5 separate regions of the Homo sapiens genome follow, and regions 2, 3, 4 and 5 are each linked to region 1. The links are contacts of gene promoters, found by promoter capture Hi-C in human tissues and cell types (Jung and others, 2019). All regions are on one chromosome and are shown on one strand. The core of a region is centred on a gene start or on the middle of the fragment in contact, and the rest is flanking DNA. Distances in the headings are between cores, read along the strand shown. Region 1 holds the start of POLD2 (DNA polymerase delta 2, accessory subunit). Region 2 has its middle 9.7 kb from the start of TMED4. Region 3 holds the start of DDX56 (DEAD-box helicase 56). Region 4 has its middle 4.4 kb from the start of NUDCD3. Region 5 overlaps NUDCD3 (NudC domain containing 3).

Region 1 (2,682 bases), core at 57-2,556:
CCACTTGGAAATTTATCGTGCCTGGATACCGATGTCTCACCCTGTAGCGGTCATCCAAAAAGAGAAAAGGAAAGCTAGGAGTGTTTGTCCCATCTGGAGTTCTTCCCGAACCCTAGACTCAGGTGTCCTGTTCCATCTGGACAACTACCAGGGTCTCAATCAAGTTCAGTTTGCCCCAAATGGAATTCCCGATCTGCCTCCATCCAGCTCTCCGGCACCTGTCTCATTTCCAGACAAGAGGTCTGCCTTATTAAATAAAACTTCTGTGAAATAATAAGCCTATTATTAAATAATAATAGAACTAAACCAAAACCAAAACATAAATCAGTCACTGCTCTGTTCAAAACTCTCCAAAGTGTCCTCATTTCATTGAATAAGGCCCCAAGTCCTTACAACTGCCTATGAGATCTGCTCCACTGGTCCTCTCCCCTCCTGGTTCCCACTCCTCCACCTTGGATCCCTCCCCACAGCAAGGGGCCTCTGAACTCTTGCTTGCCCCTCTCCCGTATACTTATAGAGCTCACTTGCCCATCTCCTTCAAGTTCTTACATCTTTACTCAAATGTTACCTTGTGCCCTGCCCATCTGATTTACAACTGCAACTCTCCCCAGTACTTCAACTGTTATTGTTGTTTACAACATTTACCTTCTAACAAACTGTATATTTTAAATGTATTGTCTGCCTGCTCCAACTAGACCATAAGCTCCAGGAGAGCTGAGATTTTTGTGTCTTATGCCACTAGCCACCTAGGGCTACGAAGTACAGGAGATGTGGTGAGTCCAACTGTGATGTTTGGGTTGGACACACAATGGATTTCTAAGAATAGTACAAAGAATATCCCAATAATTTTTTCACATACAATTGAAATAATAGTTTGAATATATTTATGGATTTACTCCAATTGATTTGTTTCGTTTTACTTTTTTCGTACACCTACTAGAAAGTTAAAAAATTCCCTAGCGGCTTGCAATCTATCTCCACGGGACAGCACTGGCCTGGGACACAGGCTCCGCACACGTGTCTAACGAGTGACTCGTTAGGAGCTTTTGGCTCGAACGTGCTTGATGGCGGCAGCAGCCAGGCCGCGCTACTCGGGATGGGGCCGAGAGCGCCCTGGGGGCTGTCCCAGTCACGGCGGGTGCCCCGGCTCGGATCCACGCGGCAGCTGCGGGACGTCCGCCAAGACACCAGCCCACCGACCCAGGAGCCCGGCCTCGCGGCCTGGAACTGCCACCCCCAGCTGACCCCGTTTCCCTGGACCCCACTCACCGCGCGGCGCGCCGCATCCCGCCAATCCCCGCGCGCCTGCCCCGCCCATCGCCGCAACTCGCTAATCCCCGCGCGGCTTCCCCGCCCATCGCCTAATCTCACCAATCGCTGCCCTCCTCGCCCCGTCCGTCACCAGGCGCCTCATCCCGCCGACCACTGTGCGCCCAGTCCCTGGGACGCCCAGAGAACGCGGAGCCACACCCTCGGTTTCCTGGGCAACGCGGGGCGGGGGCTCGCAGGCCGGCGCCGCGGGTCTTTGGTTGGCGGCCGCGCGTGCAGGGGTTGGGCTGACGGGGGGTGTCGGCCTCCAGTGGGCTGACCGCGTCACCCCGTCAGGCCCTGCCCAAACCTCCCAGTGGTCGTCACCCCGCCAGACCTCCCAGTGGTCGGCCGCCAGCCTCCTTGGTGAAGCCCCCAGCGTCCCAGCTTTCCCCGCAGAGCTGCCCACTTGTAGCGATGGCGACACGCGAGGAGGATCCCAACAGAAAGAAGGCCCAAGGCCCACTAACTTGGCCGGGGAGAAGTAACTCTTCCTGAAGGGATGGCGCGGGGTCTCGGGGTTCCTCCCGTCCTGCCAGCGTCTGCGTCCGGGAAACGCATTGGCGGTTTCGGGGTCCTCCCTAGCTTGCCCACAGCTGCACACCAGCTTCCAGCCCAACACTCCCCAATCTCCAGTGTCCTCGTTGTCCCCGTTACTCATACTCGTTCTTACCACCACGTCTTTCTGAGTGCTGTCTCCCACTTTGGGAATACTTTTTTTTTTTTTTTTCCATCTCCACTAATTTATAGAATTCCTCACCCCATCAAGAGACGCTTCCCCACTAAGCTTCCCGGGCTCTTCCCGCCGCGCGCTGATTCTCCCAGGCGTCCTCTAGCGCTACTGTTCTGCTACTTCCCTGGGCCTGTTTCCTAAGTCCAGGTCTTGTCTCCACAACGAGTGGATATTAACACTCGTTAATTATTACTTAATATTTTAATTTTTGTTTTTGTTTGTTTGTTTGAGGCAGCGTCTTGCTCTGTGGCCCAGGCTGGAGTGCAGTGGTGCGATCTCGGCTCACTGCAGCCTCGAACTCCCAGGCTCCAGTGATTCTCCCGCCTCAGCCTCCCGAGTAGCTGGGACAACAGGCGCGCAGCACCACGCCTGGCTACTTTAAGTTTGTGTGTGTGTGTGTGTGTGTGCGTGTGTGTGTAGAGACAGGGTCTCCCAATGGTGCCCAGGCTAGTGTGGAACTCCTGGGCTCAAGTGATCCTCCCACCTCAGCCTCCCAAAGTGCTGGGATTACAGGCATGAGCCACCACGCCCAGCCTTATATTTTAATTTAAAATGTGATATTTTAATTATTAAACGCCTTTGCAACTGCTTTGAGGTTATGACACATTAATTCATCTGCTCCTCAAATAATCCTTTGGGTC
Region 2 (2,682 bases), core at 53-2,552, 470 kb after region 1:
TATAATTCCAGCACTTTGGGAGGCCCAGGTGGGTGGATCGCTTGAGCCCAGAAGTTCAAGACCAACCTGGGCAACATGGCTAAATCCCACCTCTACAAAAAATACAAAAGTTAAGCCAGGAGTGGTGTTGTGTGACTATAGTCCCAGCTACTCAAGAAGCTGAGGTGGGAGGATTGCTTGAGTCCAAGAGGTGGAGGTTGCAGTGAACCCAAATCGCGCCATTGCACCCAGCCAGGGTGACAGAGTGAGACCCTATCTCAAAAAAATAAATAAAAAGATGCATAATACCAAAAAAGACGTGAACCTTGATTGGGCTTTGGTGTGTTACTGTCTGCAAAGACCACTGCTGACAATTCCTCCAATCCCTATAAACACATACTGTTCCTCCCATTGAGGGGTGGAGTCTATTTTCCCTCAACTTGAATTTGAACTGGCCCTGTGGTTTGTTCTGACCAATTCAATGCAGTGGAAGAGAAGCTATATGACTTCTGGGGCTTAGGCCATAAGAGACCTTGCAGCTTCCATTTTCATTCCCTTGGAACCCAGCTGACAGGAGGTCCAGCCCACCCAATTGGACCAGTCATTGGAATGAAGCCATCTTGGATCCTGCAGTCCCAGTGGAGCTGCCCCAGCCAATACCAAATGGAACGCTGATGAGCTATCCCTACTGAAACCACACAATGCAGTTATGCAACTGGAAAAAGTCAGGAAGCTCTCTATGAACTGAAAAGCTTTATACGAATAGAAAGATTTCCAGGATATACTGTTCAATTTGTTTTCCTTTCTTTTTTTTTTTTTTTTTTTTGAGACGGAGTCTTGCTCTGTCACCCAGGCTGGAGTGCAGTGGCGCAATCTCGGCTCACTGCAAGCTCCGCCTCCCAGGTTTGCACCATTCTCCTGCCTCAAACTCCCGAGTAGCTGGGACTACAGGCACCTGCCACCGCGACCGGCTAGTTTTTTGTATTTTTAGTAGAGACGGGGTTTCACCGTGTTAGCCAGGATGGTCTCGACTCCTGACCTTGTGATCCGCCCGCCTCGGCCTCCCAAAGTGCTGGGATTACAGGTGTGAGCCACCGCGCCCAGCCTTTTTTTTTTTTTTTTTTTTTTTTTGAGACAGAGTCTCACTCTGCAGCCCAGGCCCGAGTACAGTGGCGCCATCTCAGCTCACTGCAACTTCTGCCTCCTGGGTTCAACTGATTCTCATGCCTCAACCTCCCAAGTAGCTGGGATTACAGGTGTGCACCATCACACCTGGCTAATTTTTGTATTTTTAGTAGACATGGGGTTTTACCATGTTGGCCAGGCTGGTCTCGAACTCCCAACCTCAGGTGATCACCCACCTTGGCCTCCCAAAGTGCTGGGATTACAAGTGTGAGCCACTGCACCTGGCCATCAATTTGAAAAGCAGATGCGGAAGAGAATACATAGTAAACTCTCTTTGGTATTTGTACCTTCATGAAAAAACACTGGAAGAATATTTAAGAAACTAATGTAAGTGGTTATAGGTAACCTAAGATTTAGCTCATATACACCAGTAGGGTTATACTGGTTAAAATATAGAAATATTCTTGTCCTGGTCGGTAAATGGCCACTACCAAACCCCTGAATTCCCTCCACCTCTGCTCTCACCCCAGGATAAATGACTGCCCCATGATCCAACAAGAGTTAACCCCAGCAGGGAAGGGGTCTGGCAAGCCAACAAAGAATGAGGTGGATGGTCATGGGGTAGGAGACTTTACAAACAAAACTTTTAAATATACTTTTTATTTCTGAGCCATATGAATATGTCACTTGGTAAAAAGGAATTTGAGGCGAGGTATAGTGACCTATGCCTATAACCCCAGCACTTTGGGAGGCTGAGGCAGGAGAATGCTTGAAGCCAGGAGTTTGAGGCTGTAATGAGCTATGATCATGCCACTGCACTCCAACCTGGATGACAAAGTGAGACCCTGTCTCTAAAAAAATAAATAAATAAAAAATTAAAAATCAAAGTCAAAAGGAGTTTGAGAGTAAAAAACAGAAAATAATGTGTTATTTATTTAATAAAATAAAAATTAAAAATTAAATGCTAGAGACCAGGCGCAGTGCCTCATGCCTGTGATCCCAGCACTTTGGGAGGCCGAGGAAGGTGGATCACCTGAGCTCAAGAGTTTGAGACCAGCCTGGGCAACATGGTGAAACCCTGTCTCTACCAAAAATACAAAACTTACCTGTGTATGGTAGCACATGCCTGTGGTCCCAGCTACTCAGGAGGCTGAAATGGGAGGATGGTTTGAGCCTGGGAGGCAGAGGCTGCAGTTAGCCGAGATCACACCGCTGTACTCCAGACTGGGTGACAGAATGAGACCCTGTCTCAAAAATTAAGAAAGAGGCTGGGCGCGGTATCTCACACCTGTAATCCCAGCACTTTGGGAGGCCCAGGTGGGCAGATCACCTGAGGTGAGGAGTTCAAGACCAGCCTGCCCAACATGGCGAAACCTCATCTCTACTAAAAATTCAAAAAATTAGCCAGGTGTGGTGGCAGGAGCCTGTAATCCAAGCTACTCAGGAGACTGAGGCAGGAGAATTGCTTGAACCCAGGAGGTGCAGGTTGCAGTGAGCAGAGATCATGCCACTGCACTCCAGCCTGGGCGACAAGAGCGAAACTCCGTCAAAAAACAAAAAACAAAAAAAAAAGAAAGA
Region 3 (2,682 bases), core at 62-2,561, 450 kb after region 1:
TTCAAAGCCAAAGGAAAAAAGAAGGTCAGCTTCGTCCACCACCAAAAGCTCCAGGGAGTCACGAAGTTTCAGGCTGTCTTGCTGCAAGTGGCTTAATATGCGAGATGGGGTCCCTACTACCACATCTGGCTTCTCCATCAGCACAGCTCTGGAGGTGGACAAGACATCAGTATCAGGCAGAATGTAGCAGCTGGGATCTCACCCTGGATTTGCTCTCTTTTTTGCCACACACAAACCCAACCCCACAACACTGTGTAGCTTCATTCAGGTACAGCTTTGCTGCTTTTACCCACCTCTGAGAGACTGAGTCTTCAGCAGCTGAGACATTGGCCACTCGGACATCCCGAGCACAGTAGGTAGCCAGCTGCTGAATCATGGACTGTGCTTGCCGTGCCAGCTCCTTGGTAGGAACAAGAACAAGGCCTCTCACTGCCTGTTCTACCACCGGACCTGTCTGTAAGAATATGAATTAAAGACTTTAGCCAGCAGTGCACATCACTGTGTCCACGTGTCTCTACCCCTTCCAGCCTACCTGACCCATCTGCTGCAACACTACTTAGCAGTACTTTGATCATCTATCACTCTGCCCGCCTCAGAATGCAGAGTGGAGAGTTCTTTCCCCAGGCACTGACCCTCAAAAAGAATAACGTACTCTGATGTTTATGAAGCTACTTTAAATATACTAGTTATGAAGCTAAATTCTCACAATAATTCTGTAAGTAGAAAAGATAGATGTGCTCCCTTTTTATGTAAGAAAGAAAAGAAAGTGCTTTGTCGAAGATTACGCAAAGGTTGGTGGTAGCAGGGCCGGACAAGGATCCAGGTAACCTGAACTCCAGCCCAGAGTGTTTGCCACAACAGCACCAGGTTCTCAGGCCGGCCTGCACGGGTACAGGGCCAAGAGAAAACCTCAGACAAACGGGAACCGCCCTTCCCAGGCTTTTGGAGCTTGCCTCCTTCCTCCCCTCAGCTCTCTCGTTACCCACCGCCTTCCTATGGAGCAACAGCTGCAGCATCGGAATAGCATAAGCGGCCGTCTTCCCGGAGCCCGTGCGGGCCCGAGCCAGGAGGTCCTTCCCTTCTAGGGCCAGTGGGATGGCCTTCTCCTGGATCAGCGTAGGTCGCGACCAGCCCAGATCGGTGACAGCCTAGGAGACCAGGAGTGCGGTTTAAGCGGCGTGAAGAGCGATGGCGCGCCCCGCAGAGCCCGTAAGCCGGCTCCCCAGCCCTCGCGTGTACCTGAAGGAGCCGGGGATCGAGGCCCATGTGTTCGAAGCCCAGTGCTTCAGAGTCCTCCATGGCGCTGCTCAGTAGCGCAGCACGCACGCGCTGCAGGAAAAACGCCACCGACGCGAGCGGGAGCAAAGCAACAACCAATCGGCTTCGGAGACGAAGTCACTTCCCGGAAGTGCTGGCGGCCTAGGCTTCCGGTACTCGGACGGAGCTCTGCGACTGCGCAGTCCCTAGGACTGGGTCTAGTAGGAGGCGGTGGAGCGGCCGTGCTGGGGTCGACGGGGTACTTTGGACTACAGAGCCGCTCCACTGGCTCTTCCGGCGTTCCCGGACGCCGCTGACGCACCTGATTCTCGCGACCTGCAGGAGAAGCCTCGGCCGGGGCGAGGGCCGAGGTCGTGACGGGCATGACCGTCTCTCTGCTTGGTTAGGGTTAGTGTCCCGCCGGGCACATCACCCTATGAATGGAGCCACTGAGATAGACTGGGCTGAGGAGAACCGGTTGGAATAATGAGCCATGGCAGCAACTGCCTGAGAGAGAGGACCGGCGGGTTGCTGTAGGGCTCCCTAACCGGACTGCCTGTCAGAAACCTGCACAGCTTGGTTTCTGTTCTTTGTGTCCCAAATCTGACTCGGGTCACCAGTTAAGACCCGTGTCAGACTTCTGACCTACAGACTTGCGTCGTTTTAAGCCAGTAAATTTGTGGTAATTTGTTACAGTAGCAATAGGAAAATAATACAGGTGAGGACTAAGAATCCTAATCACAAATCTTTTTTTTTTTTTGAGACATGGTCTGACTGTCACCCAGGCTGGCGCGATCTCAGGCTCAAGTGGTCCTCCCACCTCAGTCTCCTGGAAAGCTAAGACTACAGGCACGCACCACCACGTCCAGTTAGCGTGTATGTATGTATGTACGTACGTGTGTGTGTGTGTGTATGTGTATATATGTAACTCCTCCTCCCCTCCCCCCTCCCCTTCTCTTCTTTTCTTTCTAGATGGGGTTTCGCCACGTTGCCCAGGACGGTTTTGAACTCCTGGGGCCAAGCGATCTGCCTTCCTCGGCCTCCCAAAGTGCTGGGATTGCAGGTGCGAGCCACTGCTCCTGGCCCATAAGTCTTTCAGTGTAGAAGAGGGAAGCAGAAGAGGTCAAAGTGGTGCCATGTGAGAGCTCAACCCACCCTTGCTGGAGGAAGGGAGCCAGAGCCAAGCTGGAAAAGGCAAGGAAACAACCTTTGTGATTACATTAGGCCCATCCAGATGATCCAGGATAATTTATTTTACAGTCATCTGATTAGCAACTTAATTCTCTTCTGTCATGTTAGGTAACATATTCATATGTTTCAGAGTGGTAGGCCATTATTCTACCTACCATACCACCCAACACAAATCTACATTAAGACTATATCTGAGTGTTGCACAGGAATCTATGTCAACAAGCTTCCAGGATG
Region 4 (2,682 bases), core at 137-2,636, 370 kb after region 1:
GATTGCTTCAAGCTAGGAAGAGAATTCTCACCAGATACCAACACCTTGGTCTTGGATTTCTGGCCTCCAAGACTGTGAGAGAATAAACATGTGTTGTTTAAGCCACCCAGTCTATGGTACTTTGTGACAGCAGGAAGCTAGGACAATGGCCTGCCTTGATTCCTGCTGAGACACTTGCAGTTTTACCTGCCATTGCTTTTGCACCATCATTGCAAATGTCAACATGGTAAAAAAGCAAATAACATCATAGTATTGTTATTTTTACCTTGGAGGCCCCCCAGGGCCACATACTACACTCTGAGAATCACTGCCCTAGAGAATTAATGAATCTCGGGTGAGCCTGTTATATAATTCCTCAGTATAACTGGAAGCACATGCAGTCATCTTCTTGCTATATTCAAAGTTTTGAATAATTTTCTTTAGCACCTAAAGGAAGAAATGGAACAGACGCTGCATCTGGAGAAGGGAAATTGAGGGAAACACTATAAAACAGGAGAAAAACTTACTTTTGTATTTGATACCATATACATGCATTACCTATTCAAAAAGTAAATAAAATATCTTTTTTTTTTTTTTGAAACAGAGTCTCGCTCTGTCGCCCAGGCTGGGGTGTAGTGGCACAGTCTCAGCTCGGCTCACTGCAAGCTCCGCCTCCTGGGTTCACGCCATTCTCCCGCCTCAGCCTCCCGAGTAGCTGGGACTACAGGTGCCCGCCACCACACCCGGCTAATTTTTTGAATTTTTAGTAGAGACGGGGTTTCACCATTCACAGGATGGTCTCGATCTCCTGACCTTGTGATCCACCCGCCTCAGCCTCCCAAAGTGCTGGGATTACAGGCGTGAGCCACCGTGCCCGGCCAAAATATCTTTTAAATTGAATGGAAAGCTAAACATAATGTCATAACACAGTCCAGCAATCATGCTCTTATGTATTTACCCAGCTTATTTGAAAACTATGTCCATACAGAAATCTACATGCAAATGTTTATTGCAGCTTTACTCAAAATTGCCAAAAATGGGAAGCAACCAGGTGCCGTCAACAGGTACTGGATAAACGAAAGGTAGTACATTCATAGAATGAAGTACTGTTTTCAGCAGTAAGAAGGAATAAGCTGTCAATCAATAAAAAGATATGGCTTAATCTTAAATGCGTATTGCTAAGAGATAGAAACCACTCAAAAAATGCTACCACCCAATTATATGACATTCTGAAAAATGCAAAATGTAGAAACAGTAAAAGATCAGTGGTTGTCAGGGTCTGCGTGTGAAAAAAAGGTTGAATGATGCACAGGGAATTTTTTAGGATGTAAAATTATTCTATATGATAGTAATTACTATCATAGAATAATGATAGTAATAATTATTAATAGTAATAATTATTAATAGTAATTATTAGTAATAATAGCAATAATTAGTAATTAGTAATTAATAGTAATAATTAGTAATTAATAGTAATAATTATTAATAATAATAATTAGTAGTAATAATGATAGATACGTGACACTACACATTTGTCAAAACCCATAGAAATTTATAGCACCAAGAGTAAACCTTAATATAGGCAGTCTTTTAAAAAATCACTTAGGAGATTGGGGGATCCCAGAATGGGTTGCAGAATGTGACAAAACAATCTAACTGTGTCACAGATGTATGAAACAACCTCACTGAAGGGATGATAGAAAGAGATGCTGTCCTAAGTAACTTTGGAAATGAGCAGAGTCTGTAAGACTAAAGACAAAAGGAACTGTATATAAACACTGAAATCTAGTTGATACAATTATTCCTAACAGGGGTATGGGTTATCAATTCTGAAACCGCTAGATATGTATAGTGGAAATGAGCAATTAAGTAAATGGTGGAGGGTGGTGGGATCCAGGTTTCTCACTGGTGGAGTGAGAGAGTTATAAATAAGCGGGGAAGGAGGCTAGAATGATCCATGTGGTAATAGATCAGAGTTAGAAATTCATCCTTATAGATACAGATGGCTATGTGTAGAACTGTTTACAGAAATGTGTATATATGCAGGTGAGTGTACATACATGTATTTACTTGCTCTCAGCTGAGAAGGTCTAGAAGCAACAATGCTTCAGTAACAACGAGCATACCTTCCACCCAGATCTTGGTTTCTGATATTCTCCAATAGAAGGAACCAGGGCTTCTTGGAGAAATGGCTGATTCTAGGACTGGCACAGAAAATATACAAGATGCGCCTGGAGCATCTTGTGGGTGGTGTCTCAAAGTAAAGGAAGTGCAAAGAAAAAAAAAACCACACAATGATGGGGGTATGACAAAGGAAAGCGCTTCCAATGGCCAAAGCTGGAACAATTTGAGCAGCAAAATAAGGTATTATTATATTAGAACCCAAAATATAAAACAAATACCTGTGAGTCCATACCGATATACATATAAATATATTGATATATACATACCTATATGATATATAGAGATATTTCTCATACTGAATAAAGAAATGGAAGAAAATAGACACATTTTCTGTTCAGAAGAATTCCCAGTTATTTATGTAGCTAGTCTGCCCTCAAGGAGGTGGAGCATGACTCCCTACTTCTTATGTCTAGGATACATGTAGTGACTCTTCCTAATGGTAGAGCGTGGAAAGGGGAGAAACCTGACGAGGATGACCTCAGCCAGGTGATCGAGGTCAACATCAACAATGATAAGTCA
Region 5 (2,682 bases), core at 130-2,629, 340 kb after region 1:
GACAAGGGTGCCTACTCTCACTATTTCTATTCAACTTTGTACTAGAAGTTCTAGCCAGGGGAGTTAAGCAAGAAAATAAATAGTATCCAGATGAGAAGAAAAAAGTAAAATTATCTGTTTGCAAATGAAAAGATCTTGTATATAGAAAATCCTAAGGAATCCACTAAAAACTATGCATTAATAAACAAATTTAGCAAAGCTGCAGGTTACAAGATCACTATACAAAAATCTATTGTATTCCTATAAACTAGCAATGAACAATCTGAAAATGAAATTAAGAAATATTCCATCTACAATAGACTCAAAAAAGAATAAAATACTTAGGAATACATGTTTTAAACTACGAAACTAATGGGAAAACATATTTGTAAATTATATATGTAATACAGGACTTGTATGTAGACTACATAAAGATGGTTAAAGAGTTTGAATAGTTATTTCTCCAAAGATATACAAATAGCCAATAACGCACATGAAAAAATACACATTTTTAGTTACTAGAAAATGCACATGGAAACTACAATGAGATCCCACTTCATGCCCACTAGAATAGCCACAATCAAAAAAAATAGATAAGTTTTGGCAAGGATGTGAAGGAATTGGAATCCCCATAGATTGCTGGTGTACAATGGTGGAACTGCTTTGGAAAACAGCCTGGCACTTCCTCAAAAGGTTAAACATACAGTTTAACAGGACCCAGCATTTATACTCCTAGGTATATACCTAAGACAAATGAACATATATGTCTACACAAAAGCTTGTATACAAATGTTCATAGCACTATTCCTCATAATAGCAATCCAACTGTCCACCAACCGATGAATAAACAAAATGAAGTATGTCCATACAATAAAATATTATTCTGTCAGTAAAAGGAATGAAGTACTGATAAATGCTACAACATGGATGAATCCTGAAAACACTCCATTAAGTGAGAAAAGCCAGACACAAAGGCCACATAATGTATTATTCCATTTATATGAAATGTCAGAATTGGCAAATCTACAAAGGCAAAGTAGACTGGTAATTGCCTAGGGCTGGGAGGTTTGAGAGAAAATGAGGAGTGAATGCTAATGCATACAAAGTTCTTTTTCAGGTAATAAAAATGTTCTGGGGCCAGACATGGTGGCTCACACCTGTAAACTCAGCACTTTGGGAGGCTGAGGCAGGTGGATCACCTGAGGTCAGAAGTTTGTGACTAGCCTGACCAACATGGTGAAACCCCGTCTCTATTAAATACAAAAAATTAGCCAGGCATGGTGAGCATGCCTGTAATTCCAGCTACTTGGGAGGCTGAGGCAGGAGAATCACTTGAACCTGGGAGGCGGAGGTTGCAGTGAGCTGAGATTGTGAAATTGCACTCCAGCCTGCGCAACAAGAGCGAAACTCTGTCTCGGGGGAAAAAAAAAGTTCTGGAATTAGATAATAGTGGTAGTTATACAACCTTGTAAATATGTGAAAAGCACTGAATTGTACATGTTAAAGTACAAATTTTAAGATACGTGAACTATATCTCAAGTTTTTAAAACCGTACATGTGTCTGGTATGGTGTGCCATGTGCACTTGGTGTGATGTGTGTGCATGCATACAAGCATGTGTATGAGCCTGGAGAAAGGTGTGCAAGGACACATCTCAGTATACTGACACTGGCTGCAGGATTAGACGGGGAGTGCTGTGTGTGTGTGTGTGTGTGTGTGTGTGTGTGTGTGTGTGTGTGGTGATGTGTATGCATACATACAAGCATGTGTATGAGCCTGGAGAAAGGTGTGCAAGGACATCTCACAGTATATTGACAATGGCTGCAGGATTATAAAGAAGAAATTCCTTTCAACAATGTTGTGTTGTTTTGGGAGTATTATTAGTTTTGGAGTTTTAAAAATTTATTCCTAAGTATTTTTTTATATATATTCTATTGTAGATGGATTTTTCTTAATTTTTTCTTTTTTTTTTTTTTGAGACAGGGCCTCACTTGGTTGCCCAGGCTGAGTGCAGTGGCACGATCATGGCCCACTGTAGCCTTGACCTACAGGGCTCAAGCAATTCTCCCATCTCGGCCCCCTGAATAGCTGGGACTATAGGCATGCACCACCATGCCTGGCTAATTTTTCAAGACGGGATCTCACTATGTTGCCCAGGCTGGTCTGGAACTCCTGGGCTCATGCAATCCTTCTGCCTCGGCCTCTTGAAGTGTTGGGATTACAGGAATAAGCCACCATGCCTAGACCTGTGGTCATGTATTTTCTAATATTATAATTGTCTAATAAAGAACTAGCAAATATAATTGTTTTAATCAGAAGAAAATTGAACAAGGTAATAATAGTGATAGAACTGGATAATTCTATTTTCCAAATTTTCCAAATTACTTTTGTAATTAATTAAACAACTGCTTTCCTAACTGTCACACATCTATAACATATGGTGGAGAAGAAGATACCATTGCTAAAAGCAACACAAACATTAACTGTATGGCTACTAATGGATCTGAGGACACATGAGATTTGTATATAATTCTTGAGGGCAACTTTCTGTAACTGAATTTAATGACAGAAAAAAGGAAGCCACCAACAATAGAATGATATGCTTCCTTTTAACAGGAAAATTTAACGAGAACAAAACTGATCATACTCTTCAAGTTAATATGGAGTTTTAACATAATATCAATTAAAGTCCCCAAGTGGTATA

Evidence for each region. Contacts are between HindIII fragments. The study calls those that stand out against the background at their distance.
Region 2: a fragment that was not itself captured here is called in contact with the fragment with the promoter of POLD2 in region 1 in 1 of the 25 tissues and cell types used here (stomach).
Region 3: a contact is called between the fragment with the promoter of DDX56 here and the fragment with the promoter of POLD2 in region 1, in 3 of the 25 tissues and cell types used here (H1 embryonic stem cells, IMR-90 fibroblasts and heart left ventricle).
Region 4: a contact is called between a fragment that was not itself captured here and the fragment with the promoter of POLD2 in region 1, in 2 of the 25 tissues and cell types used here (hippocampus and mesenchymal stem cells).
Region 5: a fragment that was not itself captured here is called in contact with the fragment with the promoter of POLD2 in region 1 in 1 of the 25 tissues and cell types used here (lymphoblastoid cells).

Annotation. Positions count from the first base shown.
Region 1 is chr7:44,122,242-44,124,923 of GRCh38, forward strand. POLD2 (DNA polymerase delta 2, accessory subunit) reads right to left here and starts at 1,307. Exons shown (of 11, transcript NM_006230.4): 1 at 1,270-1,307. RefSeq lists a silencer at 993-1,702 and enhancers at 1,489-2,393, 1,913-1,972. The HindIII fragment of the contact is 6,473 bases long and covers 1-2,638 here.
Region 2 is chr7:44,590,580-44,593,261 of GRCh38, forward strand. No RefSeq gene overlaps it. Among named protein-coding and RNA genes, the nearest start is that of TMED4, 9.7 kb to the left of the region's middle. The HindIII fragment of the contact is 6,428 bases long and covers 1-2,682 here.
Region 3 is chr7:44,572,597-44,575,278 of GRCh38, forward strand. DDX56 (DEAD-box helicase 56) reads right to left here and starts at 1,312. Exons shown (of 14, transcript NM_019082.4): 1 at 1,240-1,312; 2 at 987-1,148; 3 at 294-454; 4 at 1-148. The coding sequence starts at 1,299. RefSeq lists an enhancer at 929-1,078. The HindIII fragment of the contact is 7,915 bases long and covers 1-2,682 here.
Region 4 is chr7:44,493,740-44,496,421 of GRCh38, forward strand. No RefSeq gene overlaps it. Among named protein-coding and RNA genes, the nearest start is that of NUDCD3, 4.4 kb to the left of the region's middle. The HindIII fragment of the contact is 7,594 bases long and covers 1-2,682 here.
Region 5 is chr7:44,457,264-44,459,945 of GRCh38, forward strand. The region is part of intron 2 of NUDCD3 (NudC domain containing 3); the gene reads right to left. Among named protein-coding and RNA genes, the nearest start is that of NUDCD3, 32 kb to the right of the region's middle. The HindIII fragment of the contact is 5,507 bases long and covers 1-2,682 here.